2 separate regions of the Homo sapiens genome follow, and region 1 is linked to region 2. Evidence: promoter capture Hi-C in human tissues and cell types (Jung and others, 2019). All regions are on one chromosome and are shown on one strand. Each heading gives the region's core, a stretch centred on a gene start or on the middle of the fragment in contact. The rest is flanking DNA. Distances are from core to core; before and after follow the strand shown. Region 1 has its middle 35 kb from the start of PPP1R2B. Region 2 holds the start of HAVCR1 (hepatitis A virus cellular receptor 1).

Region 1 (6,077 bases), core at 3,362-5,861, 170 kb after region 2:
TTATTAGGGTAAGCTTTGTTTTAAGATTTATGAGAGTTGGATCTGTGCCGAGGTGGTTTTGTCTCCTGGAAATCCCCAGGCCAGGTTGCTTCATACTGCTAAATAACATGTAGTGTCAGCCCTGACAGAGGTTTGGGTGAGTCCTATGGCTATAATAAATTTTCATTAAAAATTTTTTTTTAATTTAATTTAATTTTTTTTTTTTTTTGAGACAGAGTCTGGCTCTGTTGCCCAGGCTGTAGTGCAGGGGTACAATCTCGGCTCACTGCAACCTCCACCTTCCAGGTTCAAGTGATTCTCCTGCTTCAGCCTCCCAAGTAGCTGGGACTACAGGTATGTGCCACATGCCCAGTGAATTTTTGTATTTTTAGTAGAGAGGGGGTTTCACCATGTTGGCCAGGCTGATCTTGACCTCCTGACCTCAGGTGATCTGCCCACCTCAACTTCCCAAAGGGCTGGGATTACATGCCACTGCATCTGGCTTAATTCTATTTTTTAATTTTTTTTGCTCCGTCACCCATGCTGGAGTGCGGGGGTACCATTGTAGGTCACTGCAACCTTGAACTCCTGGGCTCAAGCAATCCTCCCACCTCAGTCTCCAGAGTAGCCGGGACTACAGGCACACACCATTGCACCCAACTCTTTTTGTTTGTTTTTTTACACTTTTGTAGAGACAGGGTCTCGCTATGTCACCCAGGCTGGTCTTGAACTCTTAGACTCTGGCTGTCCTCCTGCCTTGGCTTCCCAAAGTGCTGAGATTATAGGCGTGTGCCACTGCATCTGACCTTAATCTTACAATACTGATGTTTCTTATAATATAGCTTGATATTTATTTAAACAGTGGTCCTCCTTGTATATTTAAAAAAAAAAAAAAAAAAAAAAGGTTTGGTAGCACAAGGCATGCTTTGCCCTGGGCTGGTTTACATACTAAAAATTGGGGTCAAGGGAATAAAAAAGGATTTTCTTTTGCTTGAGGATTTTGATTATTTGAGGTCAGATGAGTTGACATTTTTCTTTATTAATTAGTCAAAAAACACTGGAGCTCAGCTTATTGAAGTTTATTGAATTAAGCTTTGAAAATCCTTCTGTCCACATTCTGGCAAGCTTTTCAAAATAAGATATACTGCTCCTTTACCATCTGCAGTTTGCTACAAGATAACAACCTTTTCTCTGATTATTTTCTTATTACTACCTCTTGGAAGATGGAGGTGAGGCTTTGGGAGGAAAAGAATGAAATAGTGGCATGAGCTGAGAGATGATGCTATGTTCAAGTGAACTATACACACACACACACACACACACACACACACCAATAGAGTATTTACACATACTTCATTGTGAAAGACATTCATCCTCAGAGAGGAAATAATTGAGTTGAAGATCAGTCTTATTGATTTTTTTTTGGTCTGATGCAGTTATTTGATTTGCTTCCAAGTTTTCTTGTTGTTGTTGGTTTTTGATTGTTATTGTTGTTGTTTTTAACCGCTAGAAAGTTGTACTTTGCCCGTGTGCTTCAGAGGAGAGAACTGAAGGTGGATTGGGAACATAGGGTAGGGTGCTACGCATTTTTCTATTGCATAACTCTACCAACAATAATGCCAGATTTATAAGTCAATCATTGCTAGGCACTTCTCTTTGGGTTTTACATTTTCCTATTGGGATAACTGATATTTATATGCAAAGTAATTTAAAATAGTTATGACTAGCTTTAAGGCATGCCCGATAATTGCATCTTTTAGGGTCTTTATTTTCCCCTCTCTCATGAAAGATTTTTTTTTTTTTTTTTACTCTCCTTGCTAACAGTACATTTCTGTGTGCCTTTTCCTTGTTGGCAACAAATATTTGGTGAAGAATAAATTTGGATAAACACTTTGGGTAGCGCTCAGCTTTACAAAAGGAGGGGAGATGAAGAGGGCATTCTGCTTAGCTGCCAGCATTTTTATAGGACTCAGACAAGTTTCTCTGGTTCCCCTGGAAGATTATTCTCAAAAATAGAAAAGGGGCTTTTGGAACTTGAAACCCACAACTGACCCTCTTTTGGTGTGTGGCGGTGGAAGTGGGGAGGAAAGACTTAGTTTTGTTTGAAGTAGCCCATATGATATGAAGAAACATTTTTAAACATTATTTTCCTGGACAACAAAACTGTAATTGGGTATTTTAGAGAAATTAAATGTTAATTGACTCCTAATGAGTTCCTAATAACACTGCTAAAAATGAGGGGAAAAAAACCCACTTTGCCATTACCGCATATTTTCTCTGGGGTATACACATTTTTTCCCCATTTTTCCCTGATGGTCATTAGCCATAAATTAGTGTCTCCCTGCAATTGTATTTACTGCTTTAAATGCCTTTGGCTAAGCAGTACTCAAACTTTTCACATCATATTAAACTTTTAAAGCAGTCTATTTTTCGTGTCTACAATATTCTTATGCAGAAAAAAAGACTCCCTGGATTATGAGGCTTGCTATTAAAATGCAACTCCAGGCCTGCTGGTCTACCAAAACTCTGAAAAAGTGACGGGGCATCACTTGATTATTGATCATGTGGGCTTGTCTGAAGCACATCTTGGAGGAGGCAAATGCATTAAAAGAGGTTCATGAATTGCTCTGAAAATACCATGAGAACACAGAGTCCTGAAGGCTCTGTCCTTTTTCACCTTTGCACAATATTGATGGATCAGGTGTGCGTGAGCGTGAGGTGGAGTCAGAGCCAGATTACGTGCGGGCAGATTTTTTTGTCCTTGTTGCCAGTGGCTTAAACGTAGCAGGACAGTGTAATACAAATACCACTAACTCTAATATAGCATCTTTCTTTTCACACCTCCTCTAGAATTTAGTAACAGGATGGGATTTGGGGAGCTGTAACAGATAAGGGATCAGCATATTTAGTCATGATACTTTATTACTGGTAAAAACTCACCCTACTCTTAGTAGTGGAGTCACCCAATAGGAGCAACACAGAAGAAAATATAAACATTGATCCAGAAGGGCTCCAAATGTCAGAAATGCTATGATTTTCTGGGCAACGTAGCTTTCTGAGTTGCTGAATATAATTGATCTCTGCCTTCTGGGTAAATTCCCATCAACTCCTCTCTGCTCCTTTAGAGCCAATGGATAAGAATTAGAACTCTGCTTTTGGATTCCAGTGTGCTATCCTTTGTCCATGAACAAATGCAAGCATGATGAGGCCACTTAAGGTAATGAAGACCCTCATGAATATGAAAAAAGTTGCTCAGTGCAAGAATGTATTAAGTGCAGTTAAATTATAATAGGGAGGTAATGGTTGGTATTAATATTAGTAAGTTGGTTCTAAGCTTTATAGCAGTATCAAGCTGTAGAATGAAAACCCACAGATATTATAGATGGAATAAGGTAGTATAAAGATCACTAGGACTGGATGTCCAAATATGCAGCTTCAGATCTAGCCTTGACCCTTTTGTTTGTGTGATCTTGGGGAAGTCATGTCACATCTCTGGATGTTATTTAACCCATTTACAAAAAGAGAGTATGATTAGGAGGTGGTACTGGCACCCTGTCGTGGTTATTGGCAATGCACGGGGGTATGTTTTGACTGAATATCACAGTGAGGTTGGACTATGCTCCAGGCATTTATTGGGGAAAGTAAATGTCTTGCAATGCAAGGCACATTGAAGCACAAAGAAGAATTATCTCATTTAAAATGCTAATAGTGTCCCAGCTGAGAAACACTGTGATGATCTTGACCTGCACTGTAGCTGTGATAGGTTTGTGAGAAATTGGGCTAAGGACAGAAAACAAGAAACCATTGCCAGATAAGTTCTGGGTTTTGTTTTTGTTTGTTTTTAAAAGAGATGGAGTCTTGCTCTGTTGCCCAGGCTGGAGGCACAGTTCACTGCAGCCTCCACCTCTTGAGCTCAGGCAATCTTCTCATCTCCACCTCCCAAGTAGCTGGGACCACAGGCAGGCACCACCATGCTTGGCTAAATTTTTAAAAAATTTTTCATAGAGATGAGGTCTTGCTATGTTACCCGGGCTGGTCTTGAACTCCTGAGCTCAAGAGATCCTTCTGCCTTGGCCTCCCAAAGTGCTGAGATTACGGGCGTGAGCCACCATGCCTGGCCCCATCGCCAGAGAACTTCTTGATCAGTTTTTATTTATTTTTAACAAGGTGCTTTCATAGAAAAGAGGAAAATAACACTTTCCACCAGCTTTGGAATTCCCTATAGGTCATGCCAGCCTCTAAGACATTTGTAAATCTTTTCATATTTCCTTGTTACATTTTTCAAGAAGTCCCTGAGGTCTTTCATGGGACACACATAACCATAGTAAAAAACAAAGTGTTCTCATTCCCCTTAACCTGTCCTTGTCTGGTGTGTGGAGCTTGCCCAAGTGTAGGATGGAATGAGAAGTGCGATGTAAATAACAGACTCCTGCTTCTGTGTGTGGTTCAGATATTAACTTTTCCAGAACAAAATCAAATAATGCTCTATGAAAACAGTCACCTTGGACCCAAAATGATGGGCTAAAAATGTTCCTTTTCTGGGAAGAATTGAACCATAACCTAAGCACAAGGAATTGGAGAATATGGAAGTTTGCTCAGGAAGGCCAATTTTCTTTTATAGATAGGGAAGTTGAGGAGGACTTATCTGAGATCACACAGCAAGGTACAGGCCAAGACAACATCACAGCTATTAGAGGGTACAGTATCTTGGTTTTGTACCAGACCCTTTCCAGGTTTCTTTTCCCAGGCAGAAGCTGGTTATGGGAGAAGCTCTAACAGACCAGGCAAAGTGTGAAGGACCTATGTGTCCATCAACCAGTCAGTTTCCAGTGTGCCAGTGATCTGAATTTCCCTAGGGCAGGGGAAGAACAACCCCACAGGTTCTTGTTTGTAATGGATCCCCTGAAACAAAAGGCCGATGAACAAGAGAAAAACAGAAGTTTAGTAACATGTATATTTCATATATATACATGGGAGACACCCAGAGAATAAGTTGTTCTTGATGTGGTGGCTTTGAATTCTAGTTTATACAGCATCTTCAACAAAGAGCAGTACATTTTTAGAGAAGTGATGAGATGAAGGAAAAGAACTTTGAGTCTTTAGGGGCAGCACCTTATGGAAAGGCAGATAAAGGCTTGTTAGTAAAGCTTGTACCATCTGCAGGCTGAAAAGGAACCAAAGTTGGTGATTAACTTTGTTCTCCCTGGTGTAAGGGGCAGGTGAAGGGGACACTTTTTTTCTTTTAAATTGATGTTCTACCTTTAAACAGGCAGAGGGAGGGCAGAGAACTCTCCTGCACCTGCTTCCTCTTTATTGTCGTTAACTCAACAGCCCTTCATATTTTGGGGCAGCCTATTTTGGTCTCCTACACTGGCGCCAAGCTAAGAGTTGTGGAGATACCAAATGGCCCTGACTTGGTCGTCTTTTGGTAGAGATAATTGCCTACTTGATGAAGGCTGTTATAGGGGATAGGACTCCTTCTGTTGTAAATGGCAGAAACTCAGTCAGCAAAACATTAAGAATTTATTGGCTTCTGCAATTAGGAAGGATGAGAGGTACTGTGGAATGCATGGCTTAGGACAGCCATCAGGACTCCCAGCTCTCAGCCTGCTTCCTTCTCCACTGTCTCCCCCCTCACTGAAGGCAGACTCTGTTGGTCCCCATGAGCACATTTGGTGGAGTCATTGGCCACCCCAAACTCATAGCCTTCTAGTACCATCACAGCAGAGAAAAAAGGCAGTCTTCCTTACCTGTTCCAGCAGAACCCACCCTCCCACCATCCACCTCTGGAGGAGATTGTTAGGGTCCTAGTCCATCCTAGTCCATCTCTGAATGAACTACTGTAGCCTTGGAGCTGGGGTTCTCTCTTTGGGCAGGATTGAGTGGTACCTTGGAGGTTAGGAGAAAAGGTGGAGAAGATTGTTCTCATAACTGCAGGAGAAAATGTTTTCGTTATCCAAACCCACAAATACGCTCAGTATAATCACACCCAAAGTATTGGACATAGGAGATACTTATGGCTGGAGTTCAAAAACACAGAGTAAGGTGTAAGTAAGGGAAAACTTTACAGAGAGGCTAGAACTCAAGGCAGACTTGCA
Region 2 (5,808 bases), core at 3,125-5,624:
AACATGGTGAAACCCCGTCTCTGCTAAAATTACAAAAATTAGCCGGTGTGGTGATGCATGCCTGTAATCCCAGCTTCTTGGGAGGCTGAGGTAGGAGAATCGCTTGAACCCAGGAGGCAGAGTTTGCAGTGAGCTGAGATCGTGCCATTGCCCTCCAGCCTGGGCAAAAAAAGCGAAGCTCCATCTCAAAAAAAAAAAAAAAAATGTAAGTTACATGAGGCCAGGGGTCTTTGGTTCATTGGTACATTCCAGATGAATAGGATCATTTCTAACATATCGCAGATCATCAACAAATAATTGTTAAATGAGTACACTTTTGGTATTTTTATATATTTTCTTTCTTTCTTTCTTTCTTTCTTTTTTTTTTTGAGACAGAATCTCGCTCTGTCACCCAGGCTGGAGTGCAGTGGTGTGTGATCTCAGCTCACTGCAACCTCCACCTCCCAGGTTCAAGCGATTCTCTTGCCTCAGCCTCCCTAGTATCTGAGACTACAGGCACGCGCCACCACGCCTGGCTAATTTTTGTAGTTTTAGTAGAGACAGGGGTTTGCCATATTGGCCAGGCTGGTCTTGAACTCCTAACCTCAAGTGATCCTCCTGCCTTGGCCTCCCAAAGTGCTGGGATTACAGGTGTGAGCCACCATACTTGGGCTTTTATGTATTTTCTATGGTAAACATAGGTGGTACCCTGTAATTTTTATATCTTTGTAAAAGATATAAAAAAAAGAAGCATTATATTACTTGTTATGAAATCAGAGGAGTAAGTGAAGGAAAATAACTAGCTTAGGGCAGTGGGCAGGGCAGGAAGAGAACTGAAAGGTAGGAAGACAGTTTTGGAGGGAATTGCAGAAGTCTGGATTATAGAGGCCTAATATAAAGTGATGGGGATGAGGGAGAGACTGACAGGTACAATGATGTGGAGTTGGTGAGTCCCTAGTTGTGGAGGGGGCCTAAGAAGATCTTGCTGTGGTGAAAGCATGGGGAATATGAACAGCTGAACTGTTTTGCAGGAGGCTGGAGCTGGAGGTACGATGTGCGCTGAGATAGCAGGGAAGTAAGTGGTGATTGCAAGAAAGAACAGTGAATTATTTTCTTTTCTGAATTCTTTCTTTTTTTTGAGACAGGGTGTCAATCTGTTGTCCAGGCTGGAGTGCAGTGGCACGATCTCAGCTCACTGCAACCTCCACCTCCCGGGTTCGAGCAATTCTCCTGCCTCAGCCTCCCAAGTAGCTGGGATTACAGGCACCCACCACCGTGCCCGGCCCATGTTCTGAATCATTTCAATTCACTGCCGTTAATCTTGGTTTATACAGATGCAGCTCCCTAGTGAGCAGCTGGAAATTCAGCTTTGGTGCCCAAGTATTGTCACTTCCAGCTTTACCCTACAACTGGGATGCATCCTTCAGGGGGGTCATGAAGTTTGCCCTAAAGAGTAGTGATCCCTGGAGGTTGTATAGCTCATTAAAAAAATCCACTGTGCTATATTGTTTGGGAGTCTTTAGAACACAGGCGTCTCTCATGGGAGATGGTCCTGTGTCAGAAAATTCAACCCTATGGAATTGTACAGTTATGTAACATCTCAGAGCCTTGGCTCCACATCCCTGTCCTGGCTCTCTCTGGCTCATCATTTCCTCCAGTTGAAACACCCTCCACCCATTCTTCTCACATGTCACTTTTTAAGAAATTCTTCCCACCCCCCACATTCCGTCATCAAAATGAATGGTCTTTCCCTATGGGTTTGTGTTTCCATTTGTTTATCTATTCAATTAATAACTTTTTTTTTTTTGAGAAGTCTCACTCTGTGGCCCAGGCCAGAGTGCAGTGGCATGATCTCCGCTCAGGGTAAATTCTGCCTCCCGGGTTCAGGCGATTCTCTTGCCTCAGCCTCCTGAGTAGCTGGGATTACAGGCACCCGCCACCACGCCTGGCTAATTTTTGCATTTTTGGTAGAGTTGGGTTTCACCATGTTGGCCAGGCTGGTTTGGAACCCCTGACCTCAAGTGATCCTCCCACCTCGGCCTCCTTTGGATTACAGGTGTGAGCAACCATGCCTGGCTTCAACACTTAAATTGCCTTAAAGGAGTTTATGGTCTGGAGTTGGGTGCCACACAACACAGTCACTATGTGTGACAATTTAAATTTTATTTTTTTGTTTTTAATTAATTTATTTTTTTGAAAGCTCTGTCATCTAAGGCTTGAGTGCAGTGGTGCCATCTCAACTCCCCGAAGACTGTCTCCTGGGCTCAAGCAATCTGAAATTTTAATTAAAATGAAATTAAATAAAAATTTTTAGGCCAGGCATGGCGGCTCACACCTGTAATTCCAGCACTTTTGGAAGTTGAGATGAGCGTATCACTTGAGGCCAGGAGTTCCAGCCCAGCCTGGCCAACATGGTGAAACTCCACCTCTGCTAAAAATACAAAAATTAGCCAGGCATGGTGGCGCGTGTCTGTAGTCCCAGCTACTCAGGAGACTGTGGCAAGAGAATCACTTAAACCCAGGAGATGGAGGTTGCACTGAGCTGAGATTGTGACACTGCACTCCAGCCTGGGTGACAGAGTCAGGCTCTGTCTTGGAAAAAAAAAAAATTAAAAATGCCTTGGTTGCCTTAGCCACATTTCAAGTGCTCAATAGTCATATGTGGCTAGTGGCTGCTGTAGTGCACGACACTCACACAGAATAACTCTGTAACCAATATTCTACTGGAGACAGAATCGATCCTATGGAATTCAAATTCAAATCCTATGGAATTGTACAGTTATGTAACATCTCAGAGCACTGGCTCCACATCCCTGTCTTGGCTCTCTGTGGCTCATCAGTTCCAGAATAACTCCGTTACCAGAATAACTCCATTACTAAAATTCTACCGGGCAGCACTCTATAGGAGGGAATAGAGACAGACACCACATATATTGCACACACAGATAAAATGGATTAAGGAAAACAAGATAATAATAGTGAGAGGGACTGGTTGGCTACTTTAGATTGAAGGACCTGTGAAAAATGTCCAGGGAGGTCATATTTAAGCCGGGATAAAAATGAAAAGGAAAAAAGTGAAAATGGTGGGGCTGGGGAGCTAGATGGAGAACACAGCCACGGAAAAGGCCTTAGGGTTGAGGCAAGTTGGAAAGAAAGCTCTAGTAGCTGGGGCTGAGTCAGCAGGGGAGAGAGTGGTAGAAGAAATCTATGGGGTAGGTCAGGGCCAGACCACCAGGGCTTCAGTAATTTGAGTAAAGATTTAGGAATTATTATTATTATTATTATTATTATTTTTCTGAGAGAGTTATGAGAGGGTTATAAGTGGGGGAATGATGTAGTCTGATTATATATTTACCTTTACCTCACTTATCCTGATTTCATTAGTTGCTTACTTACCCATGTCCCTGCCCGATTGCACAAGTCTGGATTTTTGACGTCCCTAGTATATTGAGTCATGTCCCATCAGCTCAATATGTTAGTAATAACTGGTTGAATTGAATTAGCTTTTTTTTTTCAATCTTTTTTTCCTTAAGAAACAGGGTCTTGCTCTGTCACCCCGGCTGGTGTGCAGTGGCACAATCATAGCCTCCAACTGCTGGGCTCAAGCAACCCTCCTGCCTCAGCCTCCTGAGTAGCTGGGACTACGGTCAGGTACACAAGGCCTGACTATATTTTTTGTTCGTTTTTTTTGCAGAGAGGGAGTCTTGCTATGTTGCCCAGGTTGGTCTCAAACTCCTTACCTCAGGTGATCCACTTGCCTTGGCCTCCCAAAGTGTTGGGATTACAGGCGTGAGCCACTGTGCCTGGCAAGAAATGAATTTTTATTTTTATTTTTGAGATGGAGTTTTGTTCTTGTTGTCCAGGCTAGAGTGCAATGGCTTGATCTCGGCTCACTGCAACCTCCACCTTCCAGGTTCAAGCAATTCTTCTACCTCAGCCTCCTAAGTAGCTGGGATTACAGGCGCCCGCCACCACCCCCAGCTAATTTTTGTATTTTTAGTAGAGTCGGGGTTTCACCGTGTTAGCCAGGCTGGTCTTGAACTCCCGACCTCAGGTGACTGGCCTACTCGGCCTCCCAAAGTGCTGGGGTTACAGGCACGAGCCACCATGCCCGGTCAAGAAATGAATTTTTAAACGCTGCCATACAAAACACTATGCTGAGATCATCCACTTCCCCATGAACCCTGTCATGAGCTGCAAGATACAGACCACCACTGCCTCCTTGGAAGTTACTGAATTCTTAGACCAGAAGAGGAGTTAATGAAGTACTAGGCAAGCTTACTCATGTTTGTATGGTTTAATGATTAACAGCAGAAGTCAACAGCCCGATTTAACGCATGTGGGTGCTTGACACAGAGCCTGCTATATAGTATTCTCCAAAAACCTCAGCTAGTGCTATTACTGCATATGATGTAGGTTTAGTTTTCCAAGTTCTTCCGTGGCCCTTTTTGCTTATTATATCAATCCTTGGTGGGAGATAGAGGAAGCATTTTTAGTGCTATTTTACAACTGAGGAAATAGAGGTTTGAAGAGAACTCAGGAACTCTCAGGGTTACCCAGCATTGTGAGTGACAGAGCCTGGATCTGAACGTAAGTCTGCTCCAGACTTCTGTTTCCTGAAGCATTCTCTTGAAGTCCCTTGGTAAGGAGGTGTAGTCTGAAGCATGTTGTACAGGAGCATGAAAGGTTAGGCACAGTGATTCACATTCACTCTCAATTTCTCTTGCTAATGGCAAACTTGGCAATATGACTGTTAAGGCTAGGGATAAGTCGTTGTGGCCACTGAGTAGGAAAAGCTCCACGTCCACCAGAGGCCCAGTTTACTCTGAAAAGCAAGTGCATCTCTGCCACTGGAAGGCTGGCATTTGCTCTCGTGCTGCCATTGAGCCACGCTGGTTCTCTGCTTCCAGTTTCCTTTTCTTTTCTTTTTTTTTGTTTTGTTTTTTGAGACGGAGTCTTGCTCTGTCGCCCAGGCTGGAGTGCAGTGGCGCGATCTCGGCTCACCGCAAGCTCCGCCTCCCGCGGGTTCACGCCATTCTCCTGCCTCAGCCTCCCGAGTAGCTGGGACTACAGGCGCCAGTGACCACGCCCGGCTAATTTTTTGTATTTTTAGTAGAGACGGGGTTTCACCCTTTTAGCCAGGATGGTCTCGATCTCCTGACTTCGTGATCTGCCCGCCTTGGCCTCCCAAAGTGCTAGGATTACAGGTTTGAGCCACCGCGCCCGGCCCTGTTTCCTTTTTGTTTGTTCCCCTGATACCCTGTATCAGGACCAGGAGTCAGTTTGGCGGTTATGTGTGGGGAAGAAGCTGGGAAGTCAGGGGCTGTTTCTGTGGACAGCTTTCCCTGTCCTTTGGAAGGCACAGAGCTCTCAGCTGCAGGGAACTAACAGAGCTCTGAAGCCGTTATATGTGGTCTTCTCTCATTTCCAGCAGAGCAGGCTCATATGAATCAACCAACTGGGTGAAAAGATAAGTTGCAATCTGAGATTTAAGACTTGATCAGATACCATCTGGTGGAGGGTACCAACCAGCCTGTCTGCTCATTTTCCTTCAGGCTGATCCCATAATGCATCCTCAAGTGGTCATCTTAAGCCTCATCCTACATCTGGCAGGTAAGTGAGTAGGTGCCCTGGGCGGGAAGAAGGGAGTAGAGGGGGGTTAGAAGCCAGAGAATGGGGTAGGGGAAGGGGAGGGGATGGTGGTGGTGGATTAATGTAGATGTTCTTTGGGTACCGTTGTATGGCTATGAGTTAACTAGTGAGCAGGACCAGAATAAAGTTTTAGGCCAAAGAAATTGCTTAACTGCTGTGAATTACAACATTCATGGC

What was found. Contacts are between HindIII fragments. The study calls those that stand out against the background at their distance.
Region 1: a contact is called between a fragment that was not itself captured here and the fragment with the promoter of HAVCR1 in region 2, in 3 of the 25 tissues and cell types used here (lymphoblastoid cells, neural progenitor cells and thymus).

What each region holds. Positions count from the first base shown.
Region 1 is chr5:156,882,718-156,888,794 of GRCh38, reverse strand. No RefSeq gene overlaps it. Among named protein-coding and RNA genes, the nearest start is that of PPP1R2B, 35 kb to the right of the region's middle. The HindIII fragment of the contact is 4,804 bases long and covers 2,210-6,077 here.
Region 2 is chr5:157,057,682-157,063,489 of GRCh38, reverse strand. It overlaps HAVCR1 (hepatitis A virus cellular receptor 1), which reads left to right and starts at 4,374. Exons shown (of 9, transcript NM_001173393.3): 1 at 4,374-4,569; 2 at 5,535-5,592. The coding sequence starts at 5,547. The HindIII fragment of the contact is 13,602 bases long and covers 193-5,808 here.